Linked DNA regions of Homo sapiens: region 1 is linked to region 2. The links are contacts of gene promoters, found by promoter capture Hi-C in blood cells and fetal thymus (Javierre and others, 2016). All regions are on one chromosome and are shown on one strand. Each heading gives the region's core, a stretch centred on a gene start or on the middle of the fragment in contact. The rest is flanking DNA. Distances are from core to core; before and after follow the strand shown. Region 1 overlaps ATXN7 (ataxin 7). Region 2 holds the start of THOC7-AS1 (THOC7 antisense RNA 1).

The links. The method cuts DNA at HindIII sites, captures the fragments that hold promoters and counts their contacts. A CHiCAGO score of 5 or more calls a contact.
Region 1: a contact is called between a fragment that was not itself captured here and the fragment with the promoter of THOC7-AS1 in region 2, in 7 of 17 cell types (total B cells, neutrophils, activated CD4 T cells and 4 more). The highest score is 10.6, in total B cells.

Annotation. Positions count from the first base shown.
Region 1 is chr3:63,967,885-63,973,374 of GRCh38, reverse strand. All of the region lies in intron 5 of ATXN7 (ataxin 7), which reads right to left. Among named protein-coding and RNA genes, the nearest start is that of PSMD6-AS2, 33 kb to the left of the region's middle. RefSeq lists enhancers at 1-265, 2,247-2,898, 4,253-4,312, 4,323-4,402, 4,843-5,062. The HindIII fragment of the contact is 7,761 bases long and covers 1-5,490 here.
Region 2 is chr3:63,857,014-63,861,953 of GRCh38, reverse strand. THOC7-AS1 (THOC7 antisense RNA 1) reads right to left here and starts at 1,309. Exons shown (of 2, transcript NR_104326.1): 1 at 958-1,309; 2 at 135-455. The region is part of intron 1 of THOC7 (THO complex subunit 7); the gene reads left to right. The HindIII fragment of the contact is 14,056 bases long and covers 1-3,463 here.

The sequences.
Region 1 (5,490 bases), core at 847-3,346, 110 kb before region 2:
CTGGACCCACCAACCAATACACAACACAATATGCATGCTTCGAGTCACTCTCAGGTTGTTTATGGTCACCTTCCCAGCAGAGGCTCAGGACTGCTGGGCACAGTCTTGATATGTATGGGTTGAGTAATCAGCCTGAATAGAATCCAAATCAAATAAAAACACTTTTTAAAAGATTACCTGAAAAGGGCAAGAACTTTAGAGTCAGGGATATGTGGGTTCATATCCTTGCTCTGCCAGTTACTAATTGGGTGACCCTGGGCAACCAGCTCACTCCATCCTCGTTGGCAGCGTCTTCAGTTGCCAAGCCTACTTTGCAGGGCTGCTGTGGATTAAACGATCAAGAGTTGCAAAGCCTGCAGCACAGAGCCTACTGTGGACCAAGTACTGGGAACACATCAGCACATAAGACAGAGGCCCCCTGTTAGCTTGGCTGATACCAGCTACAGGCTTGTTTATTTAGACAGAAAAGTACTCACAAATAACACCTCCTGACTTCTAAAGGAGGTAGAAATCACTTAAGAACAAATCAAACCCTCTTTACTGTAAGTTATCTTCTCCAGTGTGATAAGGATTTAGTATACATATTTTTACGTGCCATTTCAGGAAGATATCAACCTCTTCTAAGATAGGAGCTCAGGGGAGCAACTTTAAGAATTCATTTAAAAATCAGCAAATTCACACCAAACAAAAAGAACATTCATTCAAGCTAAAGTTATTTTACAAATAAAAGGCTGGCTCATTTTCCTCACAGAACTCAGAAGACACTCAGGAAGAACTGCAAGTAGAATAAAATGAAGATCAAGTCTCAAATTCAGTTTACAGATCCAAAGGTGGAAATTTTGGGCAGATTTTCTAAGTAAAACCCACATATTTTTCTTTAAATGAAACTCACTCACACTTTCAGATAGACTCAGTTAAGGTTAAACAGAGTGTGCACTCTGCATGGATGGGCCTTATGAGAAATACCAATGCATGCTTCAAGGAATGCATGACTTCATGCCTTCTGACAGCTCCATTCCACAAACATCCCATAATGACGCCCATTTAAAGCAAGGACTTTCAATAATGAAGGTTATACATGGCTATAAAATGTAAAACATAGGTAAACATGCACACAGTCTTTGGCCAGTCACAGTAAGTAACAACGCATGTATCAAAAGCTCAGTTTAAAAACTTCAGGTCATTCATTAAGCTGTCCCTTCACAAAATTATTTATTGTTTATTTTTATGTCCAGGTTGAAAAATAACTGCAGCTTGCTATTATACAGCTCCCAATTAATCCAAACTGTCATAATCCATTTCCAGGCCACCAAACACAACTCGTGAGGTGTCAATTGGCATCATGTGTCTTTCACAAGGATTATAACTCCTTAAGAAAACATCCAAGAGCAGGACCTGAGGCAAACTAGAAATAAAGACTGCATAAAACAAAAACAAAAACAAAAACAAAAAAAACTCAGCACTTTTTTCTTACACATCTACTTTGCTCCAGACTAGTGTTTTCCCTAAACTTTTGTTATTCACAACTAAACCATATTTTGGATCCTTTTCCAAATCTGCACAATATCTAGACCATTATTTACTTAATATATTTTTTAAAATTCAGTGGCTGACTAGGGACTAATTTAGCATTATCCTAAGCAATAATATCTCTGAAAGAATGACTTTGTATTTGATGTAGGAGTTTTTTATATATATATGTATATATTTTTTCTCACGAATATTAAAAAATATTTGGCATACCATTGAAAATCACACCATGGACTACACATGAACATCGAGCATTTAATATTTCCTCACTACTTTCATTGTTGTCAACTTTTCCCTCTAAATTTTCTTATTCTTCTTAAAAGCACTCACATATGGCCTGACAAGCAAACATGGTCCTACTCCATCCACTCTTTGTAGTCCCAGGTCCTTTTTATTCCTAAATCTGCTTTATCTTTGATCCAATTTCTTTATGTTCCCCAGGCACTTGATGAAACTATTCCAGAGAGAGCTGAGTGTAGTCTAATTGCTTAAAAGGAAGCAAGTCGGTGGGACTGTCCCTGGAACATTCAAATCTCAAGTTGGGGAATTCAGAACTGACCTCTGACATGCAGTGCCTCAAAGGACAATTAGCCAAAATTGGGGCTGGGAGGCAACTCCAGAGCATGCTTAGGTGGGTTACAAATGGCACTGGAAAACACTGAGAAAGAAAAAGTCCTTGCCACAAAGCACTCGGCATCATTTCCACTAGAGAGATTTAACTGAAAAGGATGATTTCAACACTGGCTGCCCTAACAAATTAGTCTCCAACTGCTACCTCTGCCAAAGGCATCTCTCCTCCCCCTAATGCGGAGGTGCTTTTAAATTAAAACCTAACGGGAAAGTGCAGAAAAGAGAGTCATTTATAGCACTTGGGCCACTTGAAACAACTTTTCACCAAAGGTCCTAATCAAATTATCAAGCTCTTGAAGTCAGCGCTTTATGACATAAATAAAGGCCCCACTAAAGTATTCGGGTCTCCTGGCATTTCCACGTCTCTGGGCAGAGCGCGCACTGCAGCATACCCATTCACACTGGCTGCATGAAAGAGAACAGATCACAAAGGGCAGATTACAAGGGAGAACGACTCCACTCCAGTGGGGGAAGGGACAGGCGTGAATGGATTGTAAATAATGTTGCTAAGAAAGGAGCAGAAATATGGCAACCTCAAATAATCCTCTTGCCAGGAATTCTTCCCAAAAGGACTGTTCTTTCTAAACTCTGCTTTCAAGTATGTGAGAAATATGAAAAAGTTATTGAATATCTGGGGGATACTCCTTCCCTGCCTAACTTGTTGCTTTTTGCAAACATTTGTAAAAGGGCTTTAAAAAAAATCCAAATATTTTATTGAAAAATACGGAATGATAGGGAAAAAGAGGAGGTACAGAATGTCACAACAGTTGATCACCTCAGCTATGAGTATAACACCCTTTTTTTTTGTCTTTCAAAAAACAGCTTGTCTTACATAAAACTGAGTGGTCTGAGTGATCAGTTCAGTTCCTGAAGGACGCCCTTTTTATGCTCCTGCAACCCTGTTCAAGGTGCAGACTTTTGACCAGAGGATTATCATCCTCTCTAACACATGCATACACACAACACTTAGGGAAAGTACATTTTGGGAAAAGGATGCTGTTGCTTTTGAGTGTTAACACAACCATCCAACTGTTTATGCCACCTCTGTGATCTTTATGTCACTGTTTCTGACTACAGATACCACACAATGAATGACATGCTGGCTGACACTTCTACTTTGCTAACAGCCATAAGGACTTCTCTCTGCTATCCTCAGAGAGCACGGTGTTACCCAAATGATGCTGACAGAGTACAGCAATAAATCACCCTGGCCGATTTATTTGACCTCACTATCTGAGTGATGCACATCATTTTGTAAAATTTCACTCCCCTTTCTCCCTCTTACACCATCATTCACTTGAACTGTTTCTATACCTCAGGTATACAGGTGAGAAGAAAAGAGAGAGCCAAAACGAAAATCCACCAGTCTCTAGCTACTTTTGATTCAATCCTCTATGTGTTAGGGAAAAGAACACTTTAGAATTTTAGCAATTTACCTTTATAAGGATAGCCTTCCAATTTGTTATACTATCTGTAGTTCAAGCATCAAACATACTCAGTCTTTACACAAGTATCTCTATAGTCTCAATTTGGTCTAGGTCACTGTTTTCCCAAATGAAACATATGGGCTATTACCAAAATGCTAAAAGACAATTAAAAAAACAAAACAAAACTATGCCGTTAACCACTCCAATCCAATTTTTACAAAAACATAAAAAGAGAGAGAATAAAAGGAACCTGGTAAAACTCAATTTAGAGGAGCTGCCTTGTTTTTGTTTGGTTGTTTCTGTTTTGTCTTTTAAAATAGAAATTTCTGTGTAGGAATCCCAACAGGGAGCATCATCTTCCCACAGTCCAACAAACAAGAGCAACTCTGCAAGGTACAACGAAATGACAAAACTATCTGCTGAAAAGTGCTACACTGAGCCAGTCACAATCCTTATTGCCATTTTCCACTGGTTTTATATCCTTTTTATATCACCTTATTCTGGGTGGGGGAGGGCAGAATACCTGAAGACCAGAACATGGAAATAAGAAAAACCTCACATTTTGAACACAGCCTTACAGATTCCTTCATTATACATTCTTTTAATAAGGAATGAGTGATTAATTACCCAGGAATGCCAATGTTTTCAATGAGTCTGCAACACACATTTATTTTTTCTGAAGAGAGAAACAGTATCTGCTCCACCTGCATGCCAGGGCTGTCAACTAATAAAACATCAGAAGTGACATGCAAAAACGAAAGCAGAAACAGTGAACCTAAAACTGTCTGACAAGAGTTTTCAGAAAAATCAATTATAGAGAATCAACAGCAATTTGATTAAAGGTTTAAGATCTTTTCATATTTAAAGTCCTACAACTGGGGAGCTCAATTTCAACCTCAATTAAAACCTTCCGGTCAAGCTCATTATTACACAAGGCATGAAATCTGAATCCCCTGAAAACTGAAGAACTCAATTGACACCTCACTTCCCGCATGAAGACAGAAGGTCTGAGACAGGTAAGGTAATATTGAGACCAGCCTCCACACATCCACCCAAGAATCAGCTTAGCTCTGCTGGCTACCTTAATAACACAACTAAAAAAAATCATCTTTTCTGGCAGTCAGTCCATAATTAAATTTTTATACACTCAATTTAAGTTACTGAATGACTTCCCAGGGTTACTGTTTGTATTTTGAAGTTGTTCTTCCTCTTGACGCAGTGTTCTGTTTGAAACTTTGCTGTGGAATTGAAGTATCTGACAAAACAGCTTTCAAACACATTCTACAGGAAACACTGCAAACTGCCTGTCATGAAACCTCACTTACCACAAGTAAGATAAAAAACAAACAGTTAAAGCGTGTTACAACGTTCCTCCATTTTTAGAGAGAGATGTAACCAATACTCTCTCTGTTTTGAGATATGGGAACTGTTTGGTGCAAACCTCAGCATTTTGTTGGAGTTAATAACAAACTCGGCTCCCGTCTGCATCTGAACTTTGGCCAGATCACTCAAATGACATTTCAGAATGGCTTCTGTGGACAGCTTGCAGCAGCTAATCCCTGTGGCTGCGATTACCCACGCTGATCCCCTAGCTCTGCAGGCTCCCTCCCTCCACTACTTGAGCAGCAGAACCCTCCTGGCCTGCTGGCAAGGCAAGACAAATGCCAGGAGGAAAAAGGCCTGCATAAACTCTTCCCAAATCTGCTTGGTTCTATGTAAGGTTAGCAAAGACCTACCCCACCGTCCACAGGCTCATCCAGAGCTGGGCCCTGAGCCAAGCCCAGACTCTGAAAACTGCCTCAGAAAACTTACCCAGTGGAGCTTTCAGCTCCTGCGCAGAAGGGCTGCTTTGGAGAGGCGTCTTGCTACCTTCCATTCACAGAATTTGGTTGTGCTTCATTGC
Region 2 (4,940 bases), core at 60-2,559:
CTGGCACAGTGGCACACACCTGTAGTCCCAGGACTTGGGAGTCTGAGGAGAAAGGATCACTTGAGCCTGGGAGGTTGAGGCTGCAGTGAGCCAAGATCGCGCCAGTGCACTCCAGTCTGGGTGACAGAGTGAGACCGTGTCTCATTAAAAAAAAAAAAAACACACACACACATACACACTGTCTCTGTTATGTGCAGAATGATTAGAGGAAGAGAAAATGAGGAGCTAAGTTTCCTCGCCACTTACTAACGTTTACGTAGTGCTGTTAGGTATTATTCTAATTGTTATCCCCATTTTACAGATGAAACAGACACAGGTTAGCTTGCCTAAGGTCGCACAGATAGTAGTTATAGAGGGTCAAAGGCAGGGAGACCACCTGCCGAGTTCCTGCTCTTCACTATTATGCGTCCTGTGTCTGCTACTTCTGCAGTGGCCCTGGTGAGAGACAATGAGGACTGTGACCAAGAGGGAATGCAAAGAGGACAGGTGGGAGGGAAATAGGGAAATTTGTGAGGTAGAATGTCAGGACTTCAGGTATTGAATGGATGGTGGGAGAAGGGATTTAGGATGATCCCAGGTTTTTGACTTCACTGTGTGCCTGTTAGTGCTACTTTTCTATTTATTGAGATTGAGATGTCCAAAGGAGCAACAGGCTTTGTCAGATGGGAGATAGGGACAGAAGATGAGTTCTAAAGTAATGACTGCAGTCAAGTGCCCCCCCACATCCTTAAAAGCCACAGGAATCTCTACCCTGCCACTTACAGACTGTCTCAGCTTCAGTCTCTGAACGGAGATAATAATAAAATCCACATCAGCGGATTGTTTTGAGGATTAAACACAAAAAGTTGTAAAGGGCTTTGCATTGAGTCCAACACATAATAATTAATATTCAGTAAATATTAATGTCAGAGTTGTTTTACTAATCTGTCTTCCACTTTCCTTTGATGTGGACTTTGCCTTCTCTCTTAATCTGCACAGGTTGCCTTTTCCTGCCTTTTCTATCAGGTGACACTCCACTTATTCCTCAAGACCCACCTCAAAAATCCCCTCTTTTCTTTCCTAGAAGTAGTTGACCTTCTGCCTACTAGCCATATTATTTTATGCATATTGCTGCTGTCACCCTTAATACGTTATTTATATGCCTTATGCTAGAAAACATTTAAGGCAGTTCACTGTAATGAGAAAATATAAAAATTAAACGGATTAGAAAACAAGACAAAAAGAACATTGAGATTAGGAAAAATAAAGGGAAGTCAGAAGTGGGGTGATCCTCAAAATGCAGGAGGATAAAGTCTAGTACATTAATTAACCAAGCTGTAAGTGACCTGTTTCTCCAGTAGGCCATTCTGAGAGGCAGGACCTCGTCTGCTCTGTGATCTAGTGTTCATGAGAGAAGGCAATCTTAGATGCCCAGGAAAAGCACTTTTTTTTTCTGATTTGAACTAGAGGAAAAGTTTATCATTGAGGTCTTTATAAATGAAAGCCAGTGTCATATCCTTAACCTCTTTTCAGCACTGAAGATCATAGAGCTGTTTTGTAGCACATCCCTTGCTAGGTAAAAGAAGGCTAAATCACAATTTAGAAAGACATTCTAAAGCCAGTAGAGGCTGGGTGTGGTAGCTCACACCTGTAATCAATCTTAGCACTTTGGGATGCTAAGGCAGGAGGATCACGTGAGCCCAGGAGTTTGCGACCATCCTAAGCAACACAGCAAGACATGATCTATACTACAGAATTTTTCAAATTAGCCAGGCGTGTGTGGTGGTGTGCACCTGTAGTCTCAGCTACTCATCTCTACTAAAAATTTTCTTAAATTAGCCAGGTGGAGTGGAACACACCTGTAGGTAGTCCCAGCTACTCAGGAGGCTGAGGCAGGAGGATCACTTGAGCCCAGGAGTTTGAGGTTGCAACGAGCCATGATTGCACCACTGCACTCCAGCCTGTCAACAGTGCTAGACCCTGTCTAAAAATAAATAAATAAAATCAATGGACAATGTGGTTTAGGTGGGTAGTGGGTAGCTCTGCTGATCTGGCTTGATTCAAATCAGGGTTTTTTGATTGAATATCTAGACCATAGAGGAAAGACAAACTACAACTTCTTCAGACAATCCTCTATAAACATGGTTTTTGTCAGCTGAGCTTTTGAAAAAATCAAGCTGAAATGAGTGGTATGTGTGATCCGTCAACAAGTATTTATTGCATACCTTCTAGGCACAATGCGAGGTCCTGGCTACTTTGCAGTGAACTAGACAGAGGAGGGCCCTGGCCCCTGCTTTGGGGAAAGAAGCCATAGTGTGCAATCAAATAAGTAAATAAGATAATTTCTGAAAAGGAATGTAATTAAGTTCTGAGAATGAACTTGATGGAATGAGGACAGAGAGTAATGGGGGAGGGCAGTGATACCTGACAGGTTCAACCACATGAAGAGCCCAGGAAAGTATTCCAGATAGAGACAACAACTAGTGCAAAGGCCCGAGGTGAAAACAAGCTCTGCACCCTTTAGAGGAAATAAGGAAAGCCACTGGGCTGGATCTAGGGACAGGACTGCATCCAGGTGGGCCAAGAGGAGTACGATGCAAAAGGAGGTAAAAGGGAGCTCAGGAGGAGCCTTGCAGGCTTTGGAAAGGAGACTGAATTGTCCTTTGTGGGCATTTAGAAATGATAGGAGGATTGTAAGCAGGAGAGTTAGTGATCCAATTCATCTTTTAGATCATTCTGAGTTGCATAAAAAATGGATTCTAGGAAGGCAAGAATGGAAACAGGGAGTCCAATGCAAAATATTCCAGATGAGAGAAATGTGGGCTTGGATTAGAGCGATGTTAGTGTGGAAGATAGAAGTGGATGCTCTTGATATCTCATTCATCCTCCTGGAAAGCTCTTGGAGGAGTACCAGTACCTGTCCATGGAGCTTACATAAGAGCCAATGTCTTTTACAAATTTGATGTGCCTGTATCACTGTCCCTTCATGTAATCCATTCCTCTGGGTCTGCGTATCCAGTTGGACTGGGAGCTCTTGAAGAAGCAGCCCTTTATTTCCTGCACTCAGTTTGAGGAACTGCCCTGCTTTAGAGTAGCTATAGCTACTAGACTGGATATTTTCACCACTACTGTCATGTTATAAGTGAAAAAGTAGAGGTCTTTGGAAGTTAGTGACTTGCAGTCACACAGGTAGTTTGTGACAAAGCCATTTTCTCTCCTTCCCTTGTTGCCAACTCTAGCAGTCTGGCTAGCTGAAAAACAGTGTGGATGTTGTCACTGTTAATTTAAACTATGTTAACTGTATTTTGTATGTGTTAATTTAAAGGATGCTAAATATTGTTAGTACCCTGATAGAAATCATTTCAGAAGCACTTTTTGCACTACAGAGAACATTAGGTGATATATTGATATGCCAGAGCAACAGATGAGAGATGGAGAAAGGGGTTGGGGTGGAATGTGGCTCTACATTCTATTTAATAAAGCTTGCTGGTTTTGACGGTAGCTTTTTTTTTTAACTTAGAAAAATGTAATGCATGAATATGTACTTGTTGCAATGTGAAATAATGGTTTTTAATATGCCTACGAATAATATGACAGAATAATGGAGCTGCATTATGACTTTCTAATAATGTAATTGTATATATTTTTCTGTGAATGCAGAGGTGAGTAGTAACTCATCTGTGAAAGGAAGATAATAGTACACACTTTGTAGAGTTGTTTCAAGGATGAAACATGATAATATATGTAAAGCACTTTGAAGTTGAGTGACCATTTAATTTATTGTGTAAACCAGGACACTTTTCAGAGTGAAAAGAAACAAATGGGTTGTGTGGTCACCAACTAGGGTGGTATAAATGCTGTGCAAGTGTTTGCTGCTGCTGTTATTCCTATTTCAATTGCTGATCCAATGTTAATTAGACATTTGTGGGCACAGGGTTCTTTTGTTTTTGGGTTTTTTTTTCATTAGTGCCATTGCATTTGCCCACTTTCTTCCATCTTCTGTGGCCCCAACACAGGGATAACTGCTGCAGTTCAACTATGAAATGATGTTTCTTTAGCCAAGATAATTGGTTTTTCAAAGCAAGATGGACATTTCACCTTGACTTTATTAGCACTATACTACTCTAAACATTTAAATAGAGAGAAAAGACAAAGGACCTCAACATGATGTTTTGCATTTATTTTCCTTTTAAAATTTTAAATTTAATTTTGGTGCACGTAATTTACCTTGGCATCAGCAATTTATGTAGACCAGTCAGAAGTATCTTAGGAGAGGTTAATATCTACATGGAGGAATCAAACCATCTTATTGTTCCTTCCACCCACCTTTTATGTGTCTCCTTAATATTGTTGACCTTAAAAATTGTTTTAATGGCTTTGAGCTTTTTGAAAGGAGGGACCAGGTGTTATTTTACCATAAGGAATGTAACACAATGGGCTAATATGTGTGATTCATCTTAATAACATGAGCTGTGGTGGTCTAACGATAAATCTTACAGGAATCTGCATGAACATTTTTTTTACATGGCCTTAGTCTCTCTTCTTGTTCATTTAAAGTAGGTCAAATCAAGCCAGTTTTCTTTGTTGTTGTTAACATATCATAGCTTTATTCAGTAACGGAGTAGAATTTTTAATACAGAGAAAATGAAGTACCTGAGAATGATAAATAAGTTTACCACCCAGTTAACCACTGTTACTACTTCATAAAAAAAGTACTACATGTCAGTAAATTCAAGAAGAAATGCACAATATGAAAAATGAAAACCTTCCCCTCTTTACCTTCCGTAATAATTCCTCTCCCAGAATGATTTTTAATGCCTCTAAAAGGTAAAAGTATCTTCTCTGGAGCCTGACTCCTGAGTTTGAGTTCCATTTCTATTCCTTACTTCCTGTGACATTTAATTTTTGGCAAGATGCTTTTTCATTGGTAAAATAGGGATAAGAATATCTATAATGAGGCC